Linked DNA regions of Homo sapiens: regions 1, 2, 4, 5, 6 and 7 are each linked to region 3. Evidence: promoter capture Hi-C in 16 types of primary human blood cells and fetal thymus (Javierre and others, 2016). All regions are on one chromosome and are shown on one strand. The core of a region is centred on a gene start or on the middle of the fragment in contact, and the rest is flanking DNA. Distances in the headings are between cores, read along the strand shown. Region 1 overlaps LOC105369844 (a long non-coding RNA gene). Region 2 overlaps LOC105369844 (a long non-coding RNA gene). Region 3 holds the start of PHLDA1 (pleckstrin homology like domain family A member 1). Region 4 overlaps OSBPL8 (oxysterol binding protein like 8). Region 5 overlaps LOC105369844 (a long non-coding RNA gene). Region 6 overlaps LOC105369844 (a long non-coding RNA gene). Region 7 overlaps OSBPL8 (oxysterol binding protein like 8).

What was found. The method cuts DNA at HindIII sites, captures the fragments that hold promoters and counts their contacts. A CHiCAGO score of 5 or more calls a contact.
Region 1: a fragment that was not itself captured here is called in contact with the fragment with the promoter of PHLDA1 in region 3 in 10 of 17 cell types (M2 macrophages, M0 macrophages, M1 macrophages and 7 more); the score reaches 22.1 in M2 macrophages.
Region 2: a fragment that was not itself captured here is called in contact with the fragment with the promoter of PHLDA1 in region 3 in 16 of 17 cell types (M2 macrophages, M0 macrophages, M1 macrophages and 13 more); the score reaches 54.0 in M2 macrophages.
Region 4: a contact is called between a fragment that was not itself captured here and the fragment with the promoter of PHLDA1 in region 3, in 3 of 17 cell types (M2 macrophages, M1 macrophages and endothelial precursors). The highest score is 6.1, in M2 macrophages.
Region 5: a contact is called between a fragment that was not itself captured here and the fragment with the promoter of PHLDA1 in region 3, in 8 of 17 cell types (M2 macrophages, M0 macrophages, M1 macrophages and 5 more). The highest score is 15.5, in M2 macrophages.
Region 6: a contact is called between a fragment that was not itself captured here and the fragment with the promoter of PHLDA1 in region 3, in 3 of 17 cell types (M2 macrophages, M0 macrophages and M1 macrophages). The highest score is 9.8, in M2 macrophages.
Region 7: a fragment that was not itself captured here is called in contact with the fragment with the promoter of PHLDA1 in region 3 in 1 of 17 cell types (endothelial precursors); the score reaches 6.1 in endothelial precursors.

The regions. Positions count from the first base shown.
Region 1 is chr12:75,580,104-75,583,585 of GRCh38, reverse strand. All of the region lies in intron 9 of LOC105369844 (a long non-coding RNA gene), which reads left to right. Among named protein-coding and RNA genes, the nearest start is that of KRR1, 70 kb to the right of the region's middle. The HindIII fragment of the contact is 6,909 bases long and covers 1-3,482 here.
Region 2 is chr12:75,529,335-75,532,923 of GRCh38, reverse strand. It overlaps LOC105369844 (a long non-coding RNA gene), which reads left to right. Exons shown (of 16, transcript XR_007063375.1): 13 at 77-130; 14 at 1,161-1,305. Among named protein-coding and RNA genes, the nearest start is that of KRR1, 20 kb to the right of the region's middle. The HindIII fragment of the contact is 6,873 bases long and covers 1-3,589 here.
Region 3 is chr12:76,030,526-76,033,969 of GRCh38, reverse strand. PHLDA1 (pleckstrin homology like domain family A member 1) reads left to right here and starts at 2,194. Exons shown (of 2, transcript NM_007350.3): 1 at 2,194-3,444. The coding sequence starts at 2,229. The coding sequence ends at 3,434. It overlaps PHLDA1-AS1 (PHLDA1 antisense RNA 1), which reads right to left. Exons shown (of 2, transcript NR_186034.1): 1 at 3,376-3,444; 2 at 2,592-3,059. PHLDA1-DT (PHLDA1 divergent transcript) reads right to left here and starts at 2,157. Exons shown (of 2, transcript NR_185978.1): 1 at 1,168-2,157; 2 at 1-706. RefSeq lists an enhancer at 2,039-2,288 and a silencer at 2,509-2,658. The HindIII fragment of the contact is 8,299 bases long and covers 1-3,444 here.
Region 4 is chr12:76,370,138-76,373,695 of GRCh38, reverse strand. OSBPL8 (oxysterol binding protein like 8) reads left to right here. Exons shown (of 24, transcript NM_020841.5): 18 at 263-352; 19 at 2,112-2,248. Among named protein-coding and RNA genes, the nearest start is that of BBS10, 24 kb to the right of the region's middle. The HindIII fragment of the contact is 2,592 bases long and covers 470-3,061 here.
Region 5 is chr12:75,596,649-75,600,544 of GRCh38, reverse strand. The region is part of intron 9 of LOC105369844 (a long non-coding RNA gene); the gene reads left to right. It also overlaps the pseudogene PGDP2. Among named protein-coding and RNA genes, the nearest start is that of KRR1, 87 kb to the right of the region's middle. The HindIII fragment of the contact is 1,913 bases long and covers 680-2,592 here.
Region 6 is chr12:75,680,492-75,684,429 of GRCh38, reverse strand. The region is part of intron 6 of LOC105369844 (a long non-coding RNA gene); the gene reads left to right. Among named protein-coding and RNA genes, the nearest start is that of KRR1, 170 kb to the right of the region's middle. The HindIII fragment of the contact is 2,420 bases long and covers 1,271-3,690 here.
Region 7 is chr12:76,468,682-76,472,391 of GRCh38, reverse strand. The region is part of intron 2 of OSBPL8 (oxysterol binding protein like 8); the gene reads left to right. Among named protein-coding and RNA genes, the nearest start is that of OSBPL8, 89 kb to the left of the region's middle. RefSeq lists an enhancer at 664-743. The HindIII fragment of the contact is 1,323 bases long and covers 1,501-2,823 here.

The DNA of each region.
Region 1 (3,482 bases), core at 562-3,061, 450 kb after region 3:
TCAGCAATTTCATTTTTGTTTAATGACATTTCTCTCTCCTCTCCTTCTCTATACATAGACTGGGTGACAGGGGCTGATAATGGGTAATGAGTTGTTTCATAATAGAAGTTTATAATGTTAGCCACATAAAGACTTCCCCCATTCACAGGAGCCATTTATGTAAATATGTGAAGAAATTATAGGTCTGCCATGTCTTAGGAGAACAGCACCTCGAAGCCTGGCATTTTAAAACAGCTTTTAGACTCCTGAGCATAACTTCGGTGCAGAAATGAAAAGATATGCATACACAGCTCAGTGAATTGTCAGTGGCATGTCGTGAATTAGAGCATCACTCAAGAGGCTGTTTCTCTGCTCATTACTAAATCTGCAATTTTTTTTTTTTACCATGGCACTTTATGATGTTAAATCATGAAGCTACCTCCAAAAAAAATCTTATAAAACTATTTTTTCCTGTAATCTCAGCTACTGGGGAGGCTGAGACAGGAGAATCTCTTGAATCTAGGAGGCAGAGGTTGCAGTGAGCTGAGATTACGATACTGCACTCCAGCCTGAAACTATTTTTTCCCTCAAACTACTTTGGATATAATTTCCTGTTTCTCGGGAGGCACTTCTTATAGTTTAAGTTACCTAAAATGTCACCTTGTTGTATGATTGCATTGTTCTGCGTTGGTGAATTTTTCATGTGCTTTCCCAGGCTTGATCCTGCAGTTATCAGTGGAGTGAGAAGCCAAAAAAGAGGCGAGGGGCTGGGGTGCAGAAGAGGGTGATGTAAATACCTGTGCCAACCCTGAAGCAGCCCCTTCAATTCTAGATGCTGTCAGCTGGAGATGCTGTCAAAGTTTATATTCCTTCAGCTGGACAAGATGTTGAAGATACACTTGCTTCAAGAACACCCTCATATCCTTGACAGAATAGCACATTCTTTTCCCTGTTACTCTGAACGTATAAGTCCATATTTAAGGCAACAATTATGTGAACTGTCAGTCTTTCATCAACAAGAGAGATGATATTGAGACTCATTGTGATAATATTACTATTCCAGTATATGTAAAATCTTGTGAAAAAGACTACTTACTGCTCAAGCAAAATTTTGCCTTTCACAAAAAATTTCCTCTGATTGTTCAATCAGTTGGTATTGTGAAAACCTGGAACTTCTTTATGAAATGCAGTATTCTGAAATGGACTTAAAATTGACCATTTTGCAGACATAATGGCAAGTGTATTTCATCAGAAATAATAATAGCTATACCGTGTATTGATCGTTTATTCTCTGCCACACAATCATGCCATCTATGTGATCTTTCTTAATCCTTACGATAACCTGTGAGTAAGGAAGCTGTTATTATTCTTGTATCATAGATGGAAAAGCTGAGGTTAGAAAGGTGAAGTAACATGTTCAATTTCATGTGCCTAGAAAGTGGTGGAGCCAGGATGTGACCTCCTTTCTGTCTGATCACAAAGCTGATGCCCTAATCACTAACTTCAACCTCACAGAATTAACATTACATGACAGATTTTGGAAAATGGTTTGGTTGGCTCAAAAGTGAAAGTGTTGCTGAAGTAAGAATATGGTAGAATTTTCTTTCAGAAACTTTCAGAAAGTATTCATACTTGCTATAAACTGAATGCTTGTGTTTCCCCCAAATTTATATGTTGCAACTTAATCCCCAACCTAATGGCATTTGTGGGTGAGGCCTTTGGGAGTTCACGGTGGGGAGCCTCATTGAATGGCATCAGTGTCATTATAAAAGAGACTTCAAAGAGCTTCTTCACCCATTCCACCATGTGAAGACACAGCAAGAAGACAGCTGTGTCTACAAACCAGGAAGCAGGCCCTTACCAGACACCCAGTCTGCCCGTGCCTCGATCTTGAACTTTCCAGCCTCCTGAACTGTGAAAAATAAGTGTCTGTTGTTTAAGCCATCTGGTCTATGACATTTTTTATTATAGCAGCCCAAATAGACTAAGACAATACTCATTAACTTTCTGTCTGCTGTACATCCATTAGTTAGAAGATAAATATATATTTTGCTAGTTTTTTAAAAAGCCAATACTACATGATTCTCAACCTGGAAAAATAAAGTGGCTTGAGACGAGCAAGAATCCAGGTCACCTTTAAAATGCCTCAGCGCTTTTTAGCTATTTTTAAGTTAAGATATTTTTGTATGAATCCAATAATATAACCAGAATGTATTCAATAGCCATAAGCACTGAAAAATCTCACAGTGGTTCTAGGAGAAAACTTTCATTATTACTACCATTTTGTGGGCTAAAGAACAAGCATACTAAAATATTTTAGTACTGAATATAAAATAATGGCACTTAATATGTGCCATCTCTTAAGCACTTAATATGTGCCAGATACTCAACATGTGCCAGACATTCATTTTTTTCACATAGTAACTCTAAGAACTAGATACTTCCATGTTACAAATGATAAATTTGAGATAGAAAGTCACATAACTTCCCCTAGCTCATACAAAGTATCGGAGTCATGATGAAAGCCAGGCATCAAGTACAATCTCTATAGTCTACACTCCTGATCATTCTGTAACATGGCCTCTTCTTCTATATAGGCTTCTGTATTTACATATTAAACATACCATATGTTGCTATTATGTTTAAATTGTATATTACATTTATTTTCTGGAGTCACTTTCCATGGTGACTAAAATTCATAATGGTGGCTATGGCTCAAATTTCTTTTTTTTTTTCTTTTTCTTTTCTTTTCTTTCTTTTTTTTTTTTTTTCCAGACAGAGTCTCACTCTGTTGCCCAGGCTGGAGTGCAGTGGCACCATCTCAGCTCACTGCAACTTCCGCCTCATGGGTTCAAGTGATCCTTGTGCCTCAGCAACCCAGACAGCTGGGATTATAGGCATAAGCCACCATACCCGGATAATTTTTGTATTTTTAGTAGACACGGGGTTTTCCAATATTGGCCAGGTTGGTCTCAAATTCCTGACCTCAAGTGATCTGCCCACCTCAGCCTCCCAAAGTGTTGAGATTACAGATGTGAGCCACCACGCCCAGTTCAAATTTCTATAATTATCTGATTTGTTCAGTAGCATTTTTGGTTTTTATTTCTTCCAGGACAGAATCATTATGATATTATGCTTTTTCAGTTCATTCATTAATTTGTCCAGTGTGTACTGCCTGTGCTAGCTATAACACACTCTACTAGACCTTTGAGGGAGTTGCAAAGATTATTACTGCTTTCAGCAACCCACGACTTGAGGGAGAAGGCAGTGTGATGGAGTAAGGCACAGCTAGCTTGACGACAGTATAGGATAAAGTAAGACAGGAACATAGGTGAGAATTAAGCATTTAGAAGTTGAAAGATGGGATTCAGTTTGATCAGGATAGGGGTCAGGAAAGACTTGTGAAGGCGATGCCATTGAGGATGGTTCTCAGCATTCTCTCCTCTATGATGAGAGAATAAAATGCAGTGGATGAGGATGTCCTCAGGGATGAACCTTTGCTA
Region 2 (3,589 bases), core at 426-2,925, 500 kb after region 3:
TCCACAAATATGTGACAAACATAAAAAATGGCAAAAACTCTTAATTTATGTGATTTTTTTCCTTTCTCTACCCTAGTACCTTTCACTGAAGACAAATTTATTGTAAAATTTCTACTGGGATTCATTGTAGGTAAGGACATTTAACTTATTAATATCATGGGACTTTTCAATGAGTTTTTCATGAACAGGCATTGTAAGATTAGCTCTTCTGGCATTAGACCTTTAGGTCATAAAATACATCAAGTTTGCTGTTTCTTTCCTCTGTCCTCCTGCCTCATTTCCACTAATAAACTTCAACCACCACATAATTATTTTAAAACTAATATTATTAAGTTTTCAAAGTGGTGACTCTTGATAAGTTATCATAGATGCTTAGACATTGCCAGTTATTGTTGGCCAACTAAGAAATTTGTCTTAGAAGAAAGCAAAGTTTAAAAAGTCAGTATTTAAGTAAAAATATATTCAAATTGAATTCTAGCAGTAATGATCTTCACTTTTCCCAGATTTTATCTAAAGGCAAATAACCTCTATGAGGGAAGGATTGCATTTGCAGGCACATATATATATGTGTGTGTGTGTACATATATATGTGTGTATATATATATATATATATATACACACATATATATACACGTGTGTGTATATACATGTATATATATGTAGGCGTATATATACACATCTGTAGGCATATATACACATGTGCATATATATACATACATATGTACATACACATATATGTATGCCTACAAATGATTGAAATTAATTAAAATACATAATACAAATATAACTAATATATATACATATACATGTATATATGTATACATTATACACACACACACACACACACACACACACACACACACAGTGTTGCCAGCATTAGCTGTCAATGGCTATGTGTCTATTCTAATTTATCAAGAGTCACCATTTCGGAAACTTAATATTAATTTTAAAGTAACAATGTAGTGGTTGAGAGTAATTAAGTAACTTGACCAAGATCACACTGCTAGTAGGTTGCAGAGCTGGGTTTCAAATGTAGACACTGGTCTCTTAATCTGACATTCACTTATTTAACAAATATTTATTAAGCATGTACTATGGGCAGGATATTGTGTGAGAGGATAAATAAACGAAGAAATTAAGACAGAATTTCCTCTTTCAAGGAAATCATTGCTAATTTCAAAAGAATGTGGAAGGGTCTCAACAGAACATTCATGGGATATCACAGAGAACCATGCTATGTATGCAAAAGAAGAGTGGTCTTTCTAATTCTCTTATGAAAAATGCCCTTTCTTCAGAAGAAATTAAGTAAGTGAAGCCTTCCAGAAATGTAGGACTGTAAAATATCTAGTTCCTTGATTCTCTTAATTCAAACTTATTTTCATTTGAAGAAATAACTTCAACTTCTATTTTAGATTCAGGAGCTACATCTACAGGTTTGTTAGCTGGGTATATTTTGTGATGCAGAGATTTGGGATATTATTGATCCCATCACCTAGGTACTGAAAATAGTACCCAGTAGTTAAGTTTTTCAACCCTTTTGCCCTCCCCTTTCTAGTAGTCTCGAGTGTCCATTGTTGCCATCTTTATGTCCATTAGTACCCAATGTTTAGCTCCTACTGTAAGTGAGAACATGTGGTATTTGGTTTTCTTTTCCTTCATTAATATGCTTGGGGTAATGGCCCCCAGCTGCATCTGTGTTGCTGCCAAGGACAAAATTTTGTTCTGTTTTATGACTGCATAGTATTCCATGGCATGTATGTACCACATTTCATTAACCTATCTACCCTTGCAACTAAAACAAAAATTGACAAGTGAGACCTAATTAAACTAAAGAGCTTCTGTACAGCAAAAGAAACTATGAACGGAGTAAACACACAACCTACAGAATGGGATAAAATGTTCATAAAGGTCTAATATCCAGAATCTATGAGGAACTTAAACAATTTAACAAGCAAAAACAAATAACCCCATTCAAAAGTGGGCAAAAGGCATGAAGAGACACTTCTCAAAAGAAGATATACAAGTGGCCAACAAACATATGAAAAAATGCTCAACATCACTAATCATCAGAGAAATGCAAATCAAGGCCACAATGAGATACTATCTCATATCAGTCAGACTGGCTATTATCATTATTATTATTATTATTATTTTGAGATGGAGTTTCACTCTTGTCACCCAGGCTGGAGTGCAATGGTGCGATCTCCACTCACTGCAACCTCTCCCTCCCAGCTCCAAGCGACTCTCCTGCCTCAGCCTCCCGAGTAGCTGGGATTACAGGTGCCCACCACCAGGCCTGGCTAATTTTTTTTGTATTTTTTTCTGTAGAGACAGGGTTTCGCCATGTTTGCCAGGCTGGTCTTGAACTCCTGGCCTCAAGTGATCTGCCTGCCTTGGCCTCCCAAAGTCCTGGGATTACAAACGTGAACCATCGCACCTGGCCTCAGCTGGCTATTATTAAAAAGTCAAAAAACAAATGATGCTGGTGAGGCTATGGAGAAAAGGGGACACTTATACACTGCTGGTGGCAATGTGAATTAGTTCAGTCACTACGGAAAGCAGTTCAGAGATTTCTCAAAGAACTTAGAACTGCCATTTGAGCCAGCAATTCCATTAGTCAAAGGAAAATAAATTGTTCTACCAAAAAGACATATGCACTCATATGTTCATCAGAGTGCTATTCACAATAGTGAAGGCATTGAATCAACCAAGGTGCCCATCAAACTCATTTTCTTTGAGTACATCAATGGCTGTGTCTTAGGAATGGTGTTAATAGACTGCATGTGGACCAGCAAAGTACCTGTACCACCAATGCTAGCACATTCCATTTTTACTTCCCTAAAAAGCTAATAAGGTAGGGGAAAAAAATCTACCCCACCAGATCAGTTTCAGTGTTAACAAAGCTAAGACTCAAAGCACAAAATGGGAAAGCCCTGCCCACACCATGAATTGTGTTTACTCATACCCAGAAACTGCTAATTAGGTTACAGATAATTAAACTGTATTACAATCTCGGGATGAACATTTTCTTTATTTTTTTCTGTTTGTTAGTTTATTGCTAATGCATTGTGGGGAACCCTTAGAAAGACTCTGATAATGCTATCACATTACCCTTCCCCAGATTAATTGCATTATCACCAACTGAAATTATCTTTTTGCTTTGGTTGTTATTCGTCTTCCCCAATTAGGATATAAGCACTATGAGATCAGGGACATTATCCATCTCACTTAGCCCTACAGATGTTCCTTAACTTATGATGGGGTTGTGTCCTGATAAACCCATCATAAGTTAGAAAATATAATCTAAATTGAAAATGTACTTAATATACCTAACCTATAGAACATCAGAACTTAGCCTAGCCTATCTTAAATGTGCTCAGACACTGATATTAGCCTGCAGCTGGGAAAAATCATCTAACACAAAGCCTATGTTATAATAAAGTGTTTGATATCTCATGCAATTTATTGAATACTGTACTGAAAGTGAAAAACATGATGGCTCTCCAATTTATGAAGGTTATGATGTAAGTCCAACCATCGTAAGTTGGAGACTGTGTGTGTATAATCCATATGTCTGATGTATAGTAAG
Region 3 (3,444 bases), core at 945-3,444:
CAGGTGTGAACCACCATGCCTGGCCCAAAAGTTGTTTTTTTTTTTTTTAAGTTATTTTCTGTAATGCATTTTCTGTGAATTTATTGTCTTAAAAATTGGCAAATATGGCCATTTTGACATATTTGCCAAATATGAGCATATGGCAACTATGCTCTTAATTTGTTAAGTCACCAACTGTTGGTGGTAACTGTTGAAATAACAAGAGCAAAGTTATCACCAATCTACGGGATCCTTACACTACTGATATTTTCAATAATGCACCGTAGTCAGACATTGTAGACTTAACCTCTGAGCTGCTCACAAAATTACTAAATCATTCTGAAATACGTAACTGCAAATTCTGGGCTTTAAAGTCTCTAGTTAAATGGGTGATTTTGAAAATTGGTGGCTGTTCAGACATTTTCAAATGAGAATAGAATGCATTTGTTTCAGACTGATAAACTGCAGAAGGTTAGATAACACCAAACACATTTGAGTTTCTCCTAAGAAAATGACTTGGGCCTCCAGATTACATCTCATTTTTTTTTTTTTTACCCTATCAAGTTTGTTTTTCCATATGAAATGTCTTTCCCAACTACACCTGCCCTTGGAGACTGTGAATAACAGACTTAAAGGAAGTATCCTTTCCAGATGAGCTGAAGAATGTCATCCTCTTAAAAGAATGAACAGCTGGTCATGTAGAAATTCTCTGGAATGCTCACTTGTCCTACAAAGGCAGGGGAGCAGAAAACATGTAGTTTTTTTGTTATTGGTATACATAATTGTAAATCTTCGAGATAATTTTACTAGAAGTCCACATAATTTTAATAATTGCCTTTCTCCTGAAAAGATTGCTAATAAATTAACAATGTGAAGGCTAGAAAGCTGGCCAAGCATAATCCGGTGGGACTCAGGATTGCTGGCTGGATTGTCCCGTTTGATCAGACATTGTTTCTTAGATGAATATTCAGGACGCCCTCGTGTATAAAAGTTGTCCTTTGTTCTGACTACCTTGGTATTAAGTTCGAATTTCTTACCATGACACACAAAGGATTCGATTCTTGCTTAGCTCTCTAAGCTCCTCTCACTTTCTCTTCCCCTCTTGAATTCTTTGCTCTTGCCACACAACTAGCAGATGAACTAATCTATCTGTTCCAACGTGGGCACAGTAGCAGCCGTAACTCTTACCTTGGCCCACTCTGACTTGTCCAGCCCTGGTTGAATTCTTCGTATCCCCGTGAGGGTCCGCACGTAGTTGGGGCTGTTTACTAAACGGATGAACTTCCCTACCGGGAGGCTAGGTCTCGGTTATGCCTTACTTCCCAGGAAGCGGCTTCTATAGGCATTGTTTAAATGTAGGAGTAGGAGGGAGCTGGGGGTATTGCATTCCCCAGGTCACAGATAAATGAGATTCCAAAACCAAGATCTGGCTAGGCCTTGGAAAGAGGGACCTGCGAGGCCGACCAGACGTTTGGAACTGCGCCTTGCAGTGTGGGATCTCAGCACCGGATATTACCCCGGTTTGTAGAGAGTTGAGTTACTGTTTTAAGAGACGTTGCAAACCGTACGGGTCAAGAAGAAAGCCGAAGACGGGTTAGCGCCTGCGGTCGGGGTCGAGAAAAGCAGGCGAGATGCGACCTGACGTGGGTCCGCCTCTCTCCACCCGTGGCAAGCCCGACAGTCGCACTATTGCTTTAACAATCGCCCTCTTTCCAAGAAGAGCTACTTAGTGACCGTGAGCGAATATGCGTGGGAAGACACGATGTCCTCTCGGCCTCTGTGCGCTCAGTTGTTTACCTAGGCGTCCGGGGGAGGCACACTCGCGGGACTCGCGGGACTCGGCCCCGGCCTCCCAGCTCGCCCAGGACACGACGCTGGTTCTGCGGGCTCTCGGAGCCCAGCGCGAATCCCCCGGGCTAATTCCCAAGAACCGAGAGGCAGCACTGCCTGGAGGCTGCCCCCGCCTCCGCGCCCCCGTCCTCACTTTCTGAGGCTGTTAGCAGAGAGTCCCGCGGGCCGGGGAGAAGCGGGACGCGGGGGATGGCCTCGCAGCGCCCTGTGAGCGTCGGCAGTAGTCAGGCAGCCAGGGCTCCTTGGGCGATCGCCCTGGGTAGAGGAGAGGAGTTTCCGGGGCTCGGGTCCGGGTCGCCTTCCAGGGGAACGAGCGCGGAAGCAAGTGGGCGGCGAGAGGCGGAGCAAGAGACGCTGGAGGGCGTGGACGCAGCGGGCTTTGGAAAGGCCCCAAGTTAATGAGGCGTGCGCCGGCTGCCGAGCGCCTCTTGGAGCTGGGCTTTCCCCCGCGGTGCGGGCGCCAGGAGCCGCCTTTTCCGCTGGGTGTCACTCGGGGGTGGGGAAGATGGCCCATTCAAAAGCGCCGCGAGGGGGCCCGGCCAGTGCCCTTCAGTGAGCGCTCGCAAGAGGACGGCAGAGGCCCGGCAGCTCGGAGCTCCGGGACCTTGTGGCGCATCAGGACGCGGCTGTCCCTCTGCCGGGACCCAGAGCCGCCGCCGCCGCTCTGCCTCCTGCGTGTTAGCCTCCTCTGCGCGCTCCGGGCAGGCGGCCGTGGGAGCCGCTGGGGCGAGGACGGCGCGAGGCTGCTGCTGCTGCCCCCGGCCCGCGCGGCTGGAAACGGAGAGGCCGAGCCAAGCGGCGGCCCCTCTTATGCTGGGAGGATGCTGGAGAGTAGCGGCTGCAAAGCGCTGAAGGAGGGCGTGCTGGAGAAGCGCAGCGACGGGTTGTTGCAGCTCTGGAAGAAAAAGTGTTGCATCCTCACCGAGGAAGGGCTGCTGCTTATCCCGCCCAAGCAGCTGCAACACCAGCAGCAGCAGCAGCAACAGCAGCAGCAGCAGCAGCAACAACAGCCCGGGCAGGGGCCGGCCGAGCCGTCCCAACCCAGTGGCCCCGCTGTCGCCAGCCTCGAGCCGCCGGTCAAGCTCAAGGAACTGCACTTCTCCAACATGAAGACCGTGGACTGTGTGGAGCGCAAGGGCAAGTACATGTACTTCACTGTGGTGATGGCAGAGGGCAAGGAGATCGACTTTCGGTGCCCGCAAGACCAGGGCTGGAACGCCGAGATCACGCTGCAGATGGTGCAGTACAAGAATCGTCAGGCCATCCTGGCGGTCAAATCCACGCGGCAGAAGCAGCAGCACCTGGTCCAGCAGCAGCCCCCCTCGCAGCCGCAGCCGCAGCCGCAGCTCCAGCCCCAACCCCAGCCTCAGCCTCAGCCGCAACCCCAGCCCCAATCACAACCCCAGCCTCAGCCCCAACCCAAGCCTCAGCCCCAGCAGCTCCACCCGTATCCGCATCCACATCCACATCCACACTCTCATCCTCACTCGCACCCACACCCTCACCCGCACCCGCATCCGCACCAAATACCGCACCCACACCCACAGCCGCACTCGCAGCCGCACGGGCACCGGCTTCTCCGCAGCACCTCCAACTCTGCCTGAAAGGGGCAGC
Region 4 (3,558 bases), core at 516-3,015, 340 kb before region 3:
GTTATATCAGGGTGATCTTTCTTAATATGTTTATTTTGATTTAATATAGTCTGCTTGTTTTATCCTATTTTTTTCATAGCAGCAATTCAGATTTCTTATTAAACATTTCTAACTAAAATTTGAGTCAGTATTTTTTTACTGCTTGTGCATTCAATAGTACTGTAACTATACAAGCAATTTTTGTTGGGTTTTTTGTTTTGGTTTTACATTATATGTAAATATAAGTGAAAAGTAAAATGTTTAACATTTTCTCGTTTAAAAGCCATTCCTAGGGAGTAGTGACTGTGTTAATCAAATATCAGGGAAACTTAAACTGGGAAAAGAAGTCCTAGCTACTTTGGAAGGTCATTGGGTAAGTATTTTGTATATGAGCTTTACAAAAAGAATTTTATTCTGTGGGAAAAAAAAAATCACATTTAAAATTTAAAACTTATTCCGTTGCTGAAAACATCACTATTTAACATAAGCTTCATCTTAATAGCAGATATTTTGGTGGTGTTCTGTTATCAACAGTAGTTAATTTTGTGTAATATTTTATTTCCAAAACTTAAAATCAGTAGAAATAGCTAACACTTATATATGACTTACTGCATTATTTAAGAATGTTACTCATATTAACTGATTTAATATTTATAACATATAACGCTATGAGGTGAGTATATAGGTGCCATGCCCATTTTATTATTGTTTATTATTGTCCCCATTTTACAGAAGAGGACACTGAGGCACAGAGAGTTCACATAATTTGCTCAAAGTAGGTAGTGGAACAAGAATTAAAGCCCAGGAACCCTGGCCCCAGGACTGTGCTTTTATGCACAGCACTCTACTCACATAGAAGAAAGAGGCATAGTTCCAATTAGAGTTATATTCCTTTCAGTGGAACATGGAAAGGATATAGTGGTGTGTGAGAGCAATGGCTTTTATTTACTTCTCTGCTAACCTAAATTCATATTTATGTAATTTTGTTAAGAGACGCTTAAATGAATAAAAAGAATCATGGTACTGCATGGATATACCATACTATGAGCACTGAGTATATGCTCCTTTCTGCATGCAGTAAGCAGAAAATGTTGAGAAATATGAGAAAGTGAAGTTAGGGACTTTGTTAAGTGGCCACATACACTCTGAAAATTTTTTTTAATTGCCTTAAATCTGAGAGTCTTCTGGAAAAAAGATAAAGCAGCAGTCATTTTTAAAAAATGAAATTTCTGTCTGGGTGGGGTGGCTCACACCTATAATTCCAGCACTTTGGGAAGCTCAGGAGTTTGAGATCAGCCTGGGTGACATAACAAGACCTCTTCTCTACTAAACATAAAAATAAAAAAATTAGATGGGCATGATGGCACATGCCTGTCCCAGCTACTCAGGAAGCTAAGGCAGGAAGATTGCTTGAGCCTGGGAGGTGGAAGCTGCAGTGAGCCATGATTGTGCTACTGCCCTCCAGCCTGGGTGAGAAAGCAAGACCCTGTCTCAGACAGATAGATAAGATAGAGATGAGAGTGAGAGATGACAGAGAGAGAGAGAAGGAGAAGGATGGTTAAACAGGTAGATAAATTAGATAGGTAAAATAGATTAGATAGATAAGGTAGATAGCACCGCTGCACTCCAGCCTACACAAGAGAGCAAGACCGTCCATGTCTTAGATAGAAAGATTATTCGATAGAGATAGACCTCAAATTTTTAATGCTAGTAAAGGCTCTTTCAGAGGGATGTGTGTGTGTGTATGTTTGAGTATATTGAATCCATGGATAGTCAACAGCATCTCATTGTAGCTGCAACAAATACTATGCTCTACTTGGACAGTTTGGAGATGGTTATTGAGGCTTTGCATGTAATGTTTGAAATTTATTAAGTAAAACTTATGAAATTTCACAAACTGGATATTCAACCAAATTCTTTTTAATTAACTAGTATTACGTAGTCAATCTTAATGTTTTTATAAAAATGATAAGAAACTTGGAGTTTTTGGAAAAGTGCTAGTTATATTTGTTTTAAAAATGCTTTTAACTGGAGGATTAACCAGAAGAAATTATCACCGTCATATTACTATACTATATAATTGCCTTCTAAGTATAATTCTTTACATTAATTTTGAATTTTTTTAAATATAGGATAGTGAAGTTTTTATTACTGATAAAAAGACTGATAATTCAGAGGTTTTCTGGAATCCAACACCTGACATTAAGCAATGGAGATTAATAAGGCACACTGTAAAATTTGAAGAACAGGGAGATTTTGAATCAGAGAAGTAAGTATACTGTTTTACAGCTAACTTCATGAGGATCAGAGAGTAGTTTTTCAATTCCTTAATGATATGGTCATTTTGTCACCTTCTGTCATATCTTAATTCAGCAAAATAGTTTATCATTTGTGGAAGTGACAGTATTCTGTTTTTGTGTATATGAATGTCAAATATAATATAAATCGTCTTGCTTTTCTGTAGCTCAAAACTACTCATTTTTTTCTTTCTCAATTGTTCCAGCACCTTAAAAAAAAAGAAAGAAAGAACGTTTTTGTTTAAATAAGATTACAGGACTAATTAATGACTCTTAGTTTCTACCTGGCAACAGTTTTCTAACCTGATTTAAGCATTAGAACTCTAGGTAAAGGGAGTGGTGCAGAATCTACTTCTGTTCCATTCTCTGATACAAAAGTAAAGTTACTGGATGGACTGGCTTCTATAGGATTTATTAGTTGGGTAATAACTAAGGCTATCATTTCTGTTCTTAAGTCATGAACTTCTTGCTAGATGGCTTATATTTTTGAATCAGAAATATTGTATACACATTCCCTATTTTATTGTTGTTATATCTTTGTGTTAAGAGAAAGAGACTTATGTATAAGAGATATTTTGCTAGGCACTTAGTACTTATTATGCAACTTTGTCCTCCCTACATGTTTGCACATACATATCATTCTCTGTCATGGGAATTCAAGTCTGTGTACCTTCCCTTCTACACTCAAATTTGAGGTTGTCAAAGATGGAAGAATGTATATGTACCAGTTCTAAAAATTCTGTCTCAGCCATAACCATTTGATGTTCTTTTTCCAGAGATAAGCTTTGCCAAGGCATACATATGATAATTTGTGAGAGTATATAATTCAGCATATTTGAAGATGAGGAAATGAGACTTAGGATAAATAACTTTAAGTGCACCAGCTAAGAAGTGGCAGCTCTAGGACTTGACTCATGTCTATCTGATCCCAAAGCCTTTTCTGGTTTTAACATGCTGCCTTTCTAGATGGGTAGGATATAGATATACTTTTATTTAACAGAAGAAAGAACTAGTAGGGGAAATCATTTTACCTCAGTAGTCTTTTCTGTTAAACCAGTGGTTCTCAACACTAGCAATACATTAAAATATTTTGGGGAAACATTTAAAAAATATATCAATACTTGCGCCTGACCCCAGAGATTCTGATTATAAAAATTCTCTGATAATTCATGGATCCAAACTTCAGAAGCACTGCATTACATTAATGGATCTTTATGAAGCCAGTGAATCTTAAACAGTGTAAGACGCATCTAGGAAGCTTGCTAAAAGCGTAGATTCCTGA
Region 5 (3,896 bases), core at 387-2,886, 430 kb after region 3:
CCTCAGTTCTTTCTTTTGCAGTGATGCCTTAGAAGATTGCCTTGATAGGGGCCAGCTTTTGTTCCCTCTTGGCATGAGTGATAGGCCATACTGGGATCCTTTTCCTCCAGCACTAACTTTGCTCTCCACTGATAAAATTTTCTTGGCCTTGTGGTATCTACATCGTCTTGTGTCATCCCTATATTCAGAATTTCCTCCATCAATGATGACATCACCAGTGTGCAACAATGGTACTAATTTTTTCATGAAATCATCAACAGCTTGACCAGCCTTCACAAGAGGGATGATACGCCTGTGGCTTTTTCAGTTTGGAGACCATCTCCGTCAAGGACTGAACATCAACATCTTTGGTTCCCTTTGCCTTGTTGCCAAGAAATCATCAACTTTGGAGACTGTACTATTAAAAGCACAGGCCATGAAGCCATGGTCATTCATGCACAATATTAAGTTCTGGCCCATGACAGCCAGTCCAATCAGTGCAATGCCAGCTTGGGCCATGGTGGAAGCATCGGACAGAGTAGAACTGGAGTGGGCAAAGTGTGGAGGGCTCACGGCTCACAGGCAAGTGAAGGATATACCAGCTGCCAGAATTTTGTCTTTTTAGATGCCTCTTTTTCCTCCACCTTCTGCTAAATAGAAATATTTTTGAAACTTTTATCCTTAGCCATCTACAGAAGCTTAATCTGTGTACTTTGTCCCATGAAAAACACATGTACTTCTTCAGTTTCAGTGACATCTTTATGCCAATTCCCAAATCCTCCCTTGAGTAGTTTTTTTTTCTATTCTCCGACAAGCCAACTTCACACTTCCAAATGGATTGGCCCTTCGAATTTAGTAAACTGCAAACCTCACCTATCTTTTGAGACCCAAAACATTTATCTTTATGACTTTCCTATTGCTATTAATGGCAATGCTATATTCACAGTCTCATAGGTTTCAAAAGGGAAATAGCTTTTGATTTTGCCTTCTCTTTCTCTTCTCCTAGTTCTGGTTAGTCTTCTTTGTAATTTTGTCCCCATTTGTTTATTCCTTTTTATTCCAGTTTTTGCCACCATTATGTGGCCTTCATATCACTACATTTAGACTATGGCAATTGTTAGGGGGATGTCCCTATGTTCCATGACTGCTCAATGCTGCCAGCGAGACTGAAGCTGCAGTTGTACCTTGGTTGCCATGGCACTGCTCCATAACCCAGCCACTATAAGGCAGATGCACTATAAGACTTTCCAAGTCCAAGAAATGAATCCCAGGAGATTTTCCCTTGACTAAATCCCATGCTTACTTTGGCATAACACTTCAGAGGCCAGATTCAATGGGAGAAAACAATAGAGAGAACTTCTTGATGTTGCTGGCCTTCTGCGTTGCAGAGGCTTTGCTGCCTTCTTGCAACTTGACCATAAATCAGACTAAATGTTTTTCGGTGGATAGGGAGTGGTTCTAATGGGATGAAGATGCAAGTTACTTAATAGTCTTTAGCTCCACTACTTTTTGCTTTTCTGTCTACCTAAGTCTTCAAATAACACTTATCGGAGAACTTTGGTGGGTAGGTAATGATTATTTATAAGATGAACAGATTACTGTAAGATTATTTATAAGATTATTGATAAGTACTATAATATTTTTATTTATTACTTATAATAAATAATATATTATTAAATATATATGGCTGGGCGCAGTTGCTCATGCCTGTAATCCCAGCACTTTGGGAGGCTGAGGCAGGCGGATCACTTGAGGTCAGGAGTTTGAGACCAGCCTGGCCAACAAGGTGAAACCCTGTCTCTACTAAAAATACAAAAATTAGCTGGGTGTGGTGACACTCACCTGTAATTGCAGCTACTCAGGAGGCTGAGGCAGGAGAATTGTTTGAACCTGGGAGGTGGAGGTTCCAGTGAGTTGAGATCACGCCACTGCACTGTAGCCTGGGCAAAAGATTGAGACACTGTCTCAAAAAAAAAAAAAAATATATATATATATATAAAATATGATTAATAAATACTCATTATGAGATTAGTTATAAGATGAATTATAAAGAAAGTTTTGCATTCCCTTCTTCTATTCTTTGTACTATCTGTATGGGATAAGAATAACTCATCAGATGGTTCTTAACCTACCAAATAAAACAGGCATTGGCATATCTTATTAATAGAAACAATCAATTCTTGAATATGCTCTAAAGTTATCACTGTGGAACATGCCCTCCTGAAATTAAACAGAGCTAAACAATTTCTGGTATTAATTTGGTTTACACACTTAATCCTGTAGCTTTCTGTCTGATAAACCTCCTTCTGTATCTTTTGACTAATTCCATGGTTTGTTGAGGAAAAGGAAGTTAAGCCTTAATTATTGAATTAGCTTATACGTTTTTGTTTAGGAAACAAACACATTTACTAAGAACATGCTAATTATGGGTACTACCATGTGAGATGTAAATAGACGCTCCATTAATTCAGAAGCTGTACTATTTCTTTCATACAATAGTAAAATTTATTCTTTTTTCAAAATTCTATTTAAGACACTGTTTCCCCTGTTCAGATGAATCTAACTAATCATTTAAATATTCTTGAAAAGCACACTGATTAGCAAAGTAAAGCTTAGGCTTAAAATCTTAACTAGGAGAATTCCTGTTTCCATTGTAAAATAACTTTTTAAAAAATTTGTATAATGAATGAAGTACAAATGCAATTTTGTTACATGCATAGATTGTGTAGTGGTTAATTCAAAGCTTTAGGATATCCATCACCTGGATAATGTACATCATACCCACTAATTACTCATTATCCCCCCACATAAAATAACCTTCCCTATATTTGATTATTTGAAAAATCTGAATGTATCTTACAATCAATGTCAAATGAAATTTGCTGCCACCAGGGAGAAGGTAAGTTGATAAGTAGTTGTCAATGACTAAACATACACAAATTTAACAGGTGTCAGGCTATTGATCATCCAATTGTCACCTCAATTAAGAGCCTACATTAATAACATCACATTCTGGTAAAGTTTTAATGAAATGCATATCCCTGTCACTGAAAACTTTTTCTAAAATAGATTTTATGGTGCAATCTTTAAGTTATTTTGCATTAGGAAGGTTATCTGTTTTAGTTCAGGTGACATATTGAAAGGCTGCAGAAAATTTGGGAGAATAAGTGGAGAATTTTCTAAGATAGCAGAAGTTGGTATAGACAATGTAAGCATCAAAAAGGCACCCGCAGCATCAAATGTCTATTAGTTGAAAGGTCCCAGCCGGCTTATGAGACAAACTACCTCCCAGTGGTATATCATTTAATTACCAGAAGTAAAATTACAAATTTGGCTAAGTAGAGAGTTCAGATGAATCCCTGGTACTGTTTAGGATGTCTCATGGTTGTGATTAAGCCTGAATAGTGGTGTGTAATGACACTTGATGTTGCACATGACTGCCAAGGGACAGCAGTGACTTAGAACAGTCTTTACATCCTAAATGTTAAGAAGGCTTAGACCAATCTTTCTCAATGTATGTTGGTGGGCTACATTAGAATTAGCTGATATGCTTGTTTAGAATTGATTGCATCCCTGGGATCTCCTGCTCATCCTCAAGGTAAAATATGGAAGGTAGGAGCCAGGAATGTGCATTTTAACATTTGAAGGCTGTCATCCTTAAACTCCTGTGAGTAGTCCTGAAAAATAAAGTGGAATGCAAATACATATACCATTTGTGGTTTATTAAGCTAAAAAGAATACTTTTTAACATTTAATATATATTTTAAGTAGAAAAAAAGCTGTTGTGAATCCTACAATCAATGAATGGTATTTTACAATTAAAGAACTGTAATATTTTAACAATAGTGAGCTTACAAGTCATAAATAAGAAGGATACACTTAGGTTGCTCTATAAACGTTCATGAGTATACTGATAT
Region 6 (3,938 bases), core at 1,231-3,730, 350 kb after region 3:
ATAAACAAGGGGTGGATTATTCATGCCTCCCCTTTTTAGACCATATAGGGTAACTTCCTGTCATTGCCATGGCATTTGTAAGCTGTCATGGCACTGGTGGGAGTGTAGCAGTGAGGACAACCAGAGGTCACTCTCGTGGCCATCTTGGTTTTGGTGGGTTTTGGCTGGCTTCTTTACTGCAAACTGTTTTATCAGCAACGTCTTTATGACCTATATCTTGTGCTGACCTCCTAACTCATCCTATGACTTAGAATGCCTTAACCTTCTGGGAACGCAGCCCAGTAGGCCTCAGCCTTATTTTACACAGCTCCTATTCCAGATGGAGTTGCTCTGGTTCACATGCCTCTGACAATGTCATATATAGAGTCAGTACAGCTTCAGGATTAAAAAGCTAGACTCCAGAGTCAGACAGACATGGCTGATATCAAATCTTGCTTCCACTGATCTTGCCCAACTCACTTGACAATTTTGTGCCACAATTTTCTCGTTAGTGAAATGGAATAATGATTAGCCCTTTATCATAGCATCAATTTGAGGAATTAGGAAATGCTTGTAAGACATTGGTAAGTATTCACTAGTGTGTGTTAACAAATGATGTCTATTATTGCTATTGTTATTAACAAGATATTCTGGCTGTGGACTCCATGTAGTTCCAGAACATTTGGTCACAGACTGAACATGTCCAAAACTGTAGTCTGTTAAAGCCTAGACTTGGGTTAGAAATTGCATTTTCCAAAGAATTTAAACATTGCAGGTTGTACTTTCCAAAGATGGCTGCTACAATAGTTCCTATCCCACATGCTATGTGATAATGTGACCTTGCCACTCCTTCCATGAGGAGGTGGGGTTTATGTTTTCTCCCCTTTGAAACTGGGTAGGCTTGTGACTACTTCAACCAATAGAGTATGGTAGAAGTGACACTATGCGACTTCAGAGGCCAGGTCCAAAAATGCTTTCATTTGTTGCACTGAAATACTCCTTCTGGGAGTCCTGTCTGATTCCCCTGGGGCTGCCATGTTATGAAGAAGCCAACCCACACAGAGAAGCCACAGATGGGTGCTCCGCTTGGCAGTCTTAACCTTTGAGCCTTTTCCTCTCAAACACCAGATATGAGTAAGTCTTCAGATAATTCCAGCTCCAGCCATTGATGATTAGTCTTCTCATCTGAGACCCCAGACCTCATGGCAGAGAGAAGCCAGCCCTAATGTCTCCTTTCCAATTCCCAATAAATCCTTGAACATAATAAATTCTTGTTTGAAGCCACTAAGCTTTTGGGTAATTTGTTACATAGCAAAGAATACCTGGGATAGAAATTCTCCCTGGTCTGGCCAGTTCTCCCATCTATGGATTTTCCAACTTTTCTCAATCAAGTAATTAGCATTTACCATGGCCTTTTAATGCAAGTCACTGTGCTAGAACAGGGATAAGCCAACATAGTTAAACAGAAATATACACAAGGATAAAGAATACTTAGGAATCCTATGGTAAGAACTGTGTAGCATAGAGTAGTGCAGGCAGGACTATGGTGTAAACTTAAAAGAGGCTGAGACAATCTGGGAAGGCTTCATGGTAAAGAGGCTTGCATAGGGCCTTGGATAAGTGGTACTCGGATAAATAGAAAAGGGAGAAAATGAATTCCTGGCAAAAGTGTGAAAAAATGTTTTGGAAAAAAAAAAGATTTAGGCATTGCCTCTTATAATTAATCTGTTAAAGTCATATTTGTCTTGCAAAATAATATTTACAAGAAAGAATGCTTTTAGATATATTTCTAATTCTAAGAGAATTTACTTAGTACTTTATAGAGGTTGAGTTATGTCAGTGGTGTCTTAAATTGGACTAATTTCCATAGGATTGATCAGCAAACTTTGCCTCCTATGTAAACATAATTTACAACTTTATTAGAACACACAGAATTTTCTTTCCTTTTTTTTTTTTGAAATGGCGTCTCGCTCTGTCGCCCAGGCTGGAGTGCAGTGGTGTGATCTCAGCTCACTGCAAGCTCTGCCTCCTGGGTTCACACCATTCTCCTGCCTCAGCCTCCTGAGCAGCTGGGACCACACTTTTTTTTTATTATTATATTTTAAGTTCTGGGGTACATGTGCAGAACGTGCAGGTTTGTTAGATAGGCATACACGTGCCATGGTGGTTTGCTGAACCCATCACCCGTCATCTACATTAGGTATTTATCCTGATGCTATCCCTCCCCTAGCCCCCAACCCCCAGACAGGCCCCAGTGTGTGATGTTCCTCTCCCTGTGTCCATGTGTTCTCATTGTTCAACTCCCACTTATGAGTGAGAACATGTGGTGTTTGGTTTTCTGTTCCTGTGTTAGTCTGCTGAGAATGTTGGTTTCCAGCTTCATCCATGTCCCTGCAAAGGACATGAACTCATCCTTTTTTATGGCTGCATAGTATTCCATGGTGTATATGTGCCATGTTTTCTTTATGCAGTCTATCATTGATGGGCATTTGGGTTGGTTCCAAGTCTTTGCTATTGTGAACCATGCTGCAATAAACATATATGTGCATGTTTCTTTACAGTAGAACGGTTTATAATCCTTTGGGTATGTACCCAGTAATGGGATTGCTGCATCAAATGGTATTTCTGGTTCTAGATCCTTGAGGAATTGCCACACTGTCTTCCACAATGGTTGAACTAATTTACACTCCCACCAACAGTGTAAAAGCATTCCTATTTCTCCACATCCTCTCCAGCATCTGCTATTTCCTGACTTTTTAATGATCACCATTCTAACTGGCATGAGATGTTATCTCATTGTGGTTTTGATTTGCATTTATCTAATGACCAGTGATGATGAGGTTTTTTTCATACGTTTGTTGGCCGCATAAATGTCTTCTTTTGAGAAGTGTCTGCTCATATCCTTCGCCCAGTTTTTGATGGGGTTGTTTGTTTTTTTCTTGTAAATTTGTTTAAGTTCTTTGTAGATTCTAGATATTAGCCCTTTGTCAGATGGAAAGATTGCAAAAATTTTCTCATATTCTGTAGGTTGCCTGCTCACTCTGATGATAGTTTCTTTTGCTGTGCAGAAGCTCTTTAGTTTAATTAGATCCCATTTGTAAATTATGACTTCTGTTGTCGTTGCTTTTGGTGTTTTAGTCATGAAGTCTTTGCCCATGCCTATATCCTGAATGGTATTGCCTAGGTTTTCTTCTAGGGCTTTTATGGTTTTAGGTCTTACGTTTATGTCTTTAATCCATCTTGAGTTAATTTTTGTATAAGGTGTGAGGAAGGGGTTTGGTTTCAGTTTTCTTCATATGGCTAGTCAGTTTTCCCAACACCATTTATTAAATAGGGAATCTTTTCCCCATTGCTTGTTTTTGTCAGGTTTGTCAAAGATCAGATGGTTGTAGATGTGTGGTGTTATTTCTGAGGCCTCTGTTCTAGAACACTCAGAATTTTCAACTAATTCCAACAAATATAACGTCTTATAATAGACATTCGTCATCTCAAAGTTACACATCGGTAGTCTTTAGAACTGTTACATCAAAAAATTCTTGAGAAAGCTCTTTGCCCTTTTTAGGAAATATATTTAGATAAATACCCAAATTTTAATGACAAGATATAGCATAGATATAGCTATAACTTACATTTTATAAATAACATATAAATATTCACAAAACACCTTCCTTTTAAAAAAACAAAAACAAAAAGTAATGGCTAAACCAAGCTTTTGCGTTCTTAAGGTCCTGTGACAACTTTTCATTAAGTACCGTAGAAATGTGTGGGCTTGCATTTTTTCTTTTTCTTTTTTTTTTTTTTTAAGATGGAGCTTCGCTCTTGTCACCCAGGCTGCAGTGCAATGGCATGATCTTGGCTCACTGCAACCTCTGCCTCCTGGGTTCAAGTGATTCTCCTGCCTCAGCCTCCTGAGTAGCTGTGACTACAGGTGTATGCCACTACACCTGGATAATGTTTTT
Region 7 (3,710 bases), core at 913-3,412, 440 kb before region 3:
GACCCTGTGGGGCTGGTCCCTACAGTAGTGGTAGCAGAATAGAAAATATGTGGAAGGAATTAGAGATGCAAATCAGCAGGACCTGGTGATTGATTGGATGTGTGGTTTCAGGAAGATACTAAAGACCAATTTTACATATATTAAACATGTAGAATCTTAAAAATGATGTTAAGATGGTGGTATCCTCATCTTACAGATGCAGAAACTGGGATAAAGAGAAATTATATAGCTTTTCCCGAGCTATACGACAAGTAGACGATGGAGTCAGGACTTGAACTCAGGCCTTTGCATATCGAATTACATTTTCTTTCTATGAGTTTTAGGGCATTATGTGTTTAGCGTTAATTCATACTGGATGAGATAACATTGTTATAGATGACCATATACGATGCAGAGGGGATCAGAAGAGTCAGTTATTTGAGTGGAGTTGAAAAGTCAGTATCAAAAAAGTTTTTTAAGACAAGGTAATGCTTAACCTGAGTGTTGAAAGGAACTTAGGTATTTGCCTGGTGAAGGTGAGAATGGCATTGTAGGCAAAAGGAGCTGTGAGAGTAACAAGTAAATTGTTCAACAACATGGTATGTTTGAAGAAGTGAAAGTCATTTTCAGTTTGTCACATTTGTGAAGTGTAGGATTGATGGGTGTTTGGAGGAATGCATGACATAAGATTGACAAAATTGTGAAGAGCCTTGAAGATGGGGTTAAATGTTTTTCTCTCCAATTTTGGTAGGCTGTGGGAGTGCAGAATCATTGAAGTGACTCAACCATGTTGTTGAACAACTTTAGAAGGCTCTCTATGATATCGGTATGGAAGATAAATTGCTTAAGTGTAAGAAATTCAGGTGGCAGGTAGTAGCAGTAACTGTGGATATGAGAAATAAAGGGTAAATATGAGAGACTACGTAGAGCTTTAGGACCTTGTCCTGGACTTAATATTAGGAGTGGAGGAGAATATAGATGAGGAAAATAAAAGTGAAGGAGAAATTTAGAGCGACTTACAGGTTTCTGTGTTGTGTGATTTGGTGGGAGGTACCATTCCTTAAGGGAGAAAATATAGGAAGAAGAGCAGGGGCAGAGAAAGGGAAGATGAAGTCGGTTTTGGACATACTGAGTTTGAGATGTGTATCCAAGTGGAGGTGTACAGAGGCTTGGTGTCCCATACAGTTTCTCATTTAATCCTTTCTATAATACTGTAAGGTAGATGTTACTCTGTTTTTAAGAGATGAAGAAACCGAGGCTCTGAAAGGGTAATTTGCATAAAGTCAGTTAGCCAGACAGTGGGCAGCACTAGGATCTAAATGTAAATATTCTAATTCTCTTATTCTTATTGAAAGAGAGGGCTTTTTTTTGGGTTATAAACTCATCTATATTACACCTAGACTTTTAAGCATCTTTTTAAAGTTGTTATATTCATTAGTTTTTATATTCATTACCTAATATAATTTTTGGTATACATTGAAAAATATGTGATACGTGATCTGTTTTATTTAATCCAAAGCTTTATTTTCCTGTAACTATTAATAATTTTGACTTTTCTATCTAGGCTGAATATTTTGACATTTGAGCACCATGTAGTTGCAGAGACATGAGGAACAGTTGCTAACTGCATTCTTATGTGTGGTAGATTGATGAGTCATGGGGGTTGACGTTTCCATGTTATTATTAGCAGTCTTGCCTGTGGCTTGATGCTGTGCAGTGTGATATACTAATCAGTGATTTGTTAGAAATGGAATAGAAATCTAGAAGGAATGAAGGTATTTTTTTGCAGCTCTTATGTCTTAATTTAGATCTCAGTCATGATTTAATCTAGAATGTAGGCTCACATATCTCTATATAAGCATGCAAAGAATTGGCCAAAATGAAATTTCAAGTAAGATGCTTTTATTTCAGATTGACAATTGAAATGCGTGAAACAGGTCGTAAGATGAAGCATCAGACACTGAAATGTTCATGTATATGCTGTCTCATATAACCAGTTCTCATATCACCTGGCATGATTATGATGTGATAATATGGTTTCGGTTGTGCTATTTCATAACCTTTTCAGGCAACTGTGGCTCGTTAGGCCAGATTTAGAGGAAAATGTTAATGAAGTCAAAGCTCAAGGTTATAGCTTTAATTCTTTTAGTGGGCAGTAAAGTTTTTCTGGTTTCCTAACCACAGAGTCCGCCAGCAGTCTCACCAGATGCATGCCATTAGTTACAAGTGAAAATCATATTGGTTAATTTTGAGCTTCTCTTGTATGTGAAGACCTTGATAAAGGAGGTTGGATTAATCATGGCAAGAGACCACCAGTGCCAGAAGAAATGTAATTCATGTTTCATTACCAAAAACTGATAGTGAATCTGTAACAATGTTATTTTATGCAGGACAGAACTATTTAAGGAAAAGAATGAGGGAATTCTTAGTGATGGAATTTGGGCTTATCAGATGGCCAAAGACTTTGCTAGGTATTAGGGTTATAATCACTAAGCCTTTTTTTTTTCTTTTCTTGTCTTTATTCATTCAGTATTTGCTGAGTGTCCACAATGGTGCCAGGCTCTGTTCTAGTTTTAAGGAATATAGCAGTGAACAAAATAGACAAAATTCCCACTTCAGTGGAGCTAACATTTCAGTAGAGAAAGAAAAAATATATAAATATGAACTGTGTTACGAGATGATTGCTGTGACGAAAAATAAAGCAGGGTAAGAAGGATAGAGAGTAACAAAATAGGGGATGATTGCTGTTTTGGGAATATTATGGAAGTATTGTGATGAAGTAGCTTTTGAGCAGAATCCTAAAGGAAGTTTTCTAGGCAAAAAATAAGAACTGAGTGTAAAGCTTGCATATCTGTTGGGCAGACGGTGGTTAGTCTGTAAGCGTTTGGGGTTGTGGGAAAGGGTGAGTGAAGGGTCTTTCCTCCTACTCAGGAAGGTGGAGGTACAGAGTCAGTGTTGCTAGGAACACATGGAGCTCTGTGGGCTCTCCCCTGCAATCCGACCTGATAATAGAAAGATGCAGTGACAAGACAGATGGAATATCTATTTGTTATGCCTGCAGTGGGAGGTCAGGAAATCCCTTATCAAGGATGTCATGCTTTATATAAGAAGAATGAATTCACCAGGAGAATCATTGGAATGGCCTTGAGGGTCTGCAGCTCAGGAGTGGTTAAGGTAGGAAACTGATTTGGGGAGTTAGTGAACTGAGCTCTTTAAAAAATCAAGTCAATGGAATCACATGGGGAAATCATGTTGAATGGAAATAAGAGATTCTAGGATGCAGAGAGAGGGAGGAGAAAGAGAAAATAGGTTGGAAACTAAGAGAGGACAGAGTTTTCAGAAAAGGAGTGGTCAGCAGTGGCAAATGCTAGAGGTGTGGTCAGTGTTAGGTGAGCTAGGGAAAGGTAAGATTGTGCTAGACCTGAGTTGTCTGATAGTATAGCCACTTCCCACATGTGACTAATTTAAAGTTAACCTAATTAAATTAAAAGTTCTTCCTTAGTTTTACTAGCCACATTTCAAGATTTCAATAGCTACATGTAGGTAGTAGCTACCCTGTTGGACATTACAGATACACACTATTTCTATCGTCGTAGAAAGTTCTATTTGACAGCACTGTACTAGACCATTATAATGGTGGAGAAAAGTTAAATAACAATTGAATTATTTATTTATTTGTATGGCAAGAGAGACAATACTGTGAGATAATTATGAATTATCAAAGAATTCAC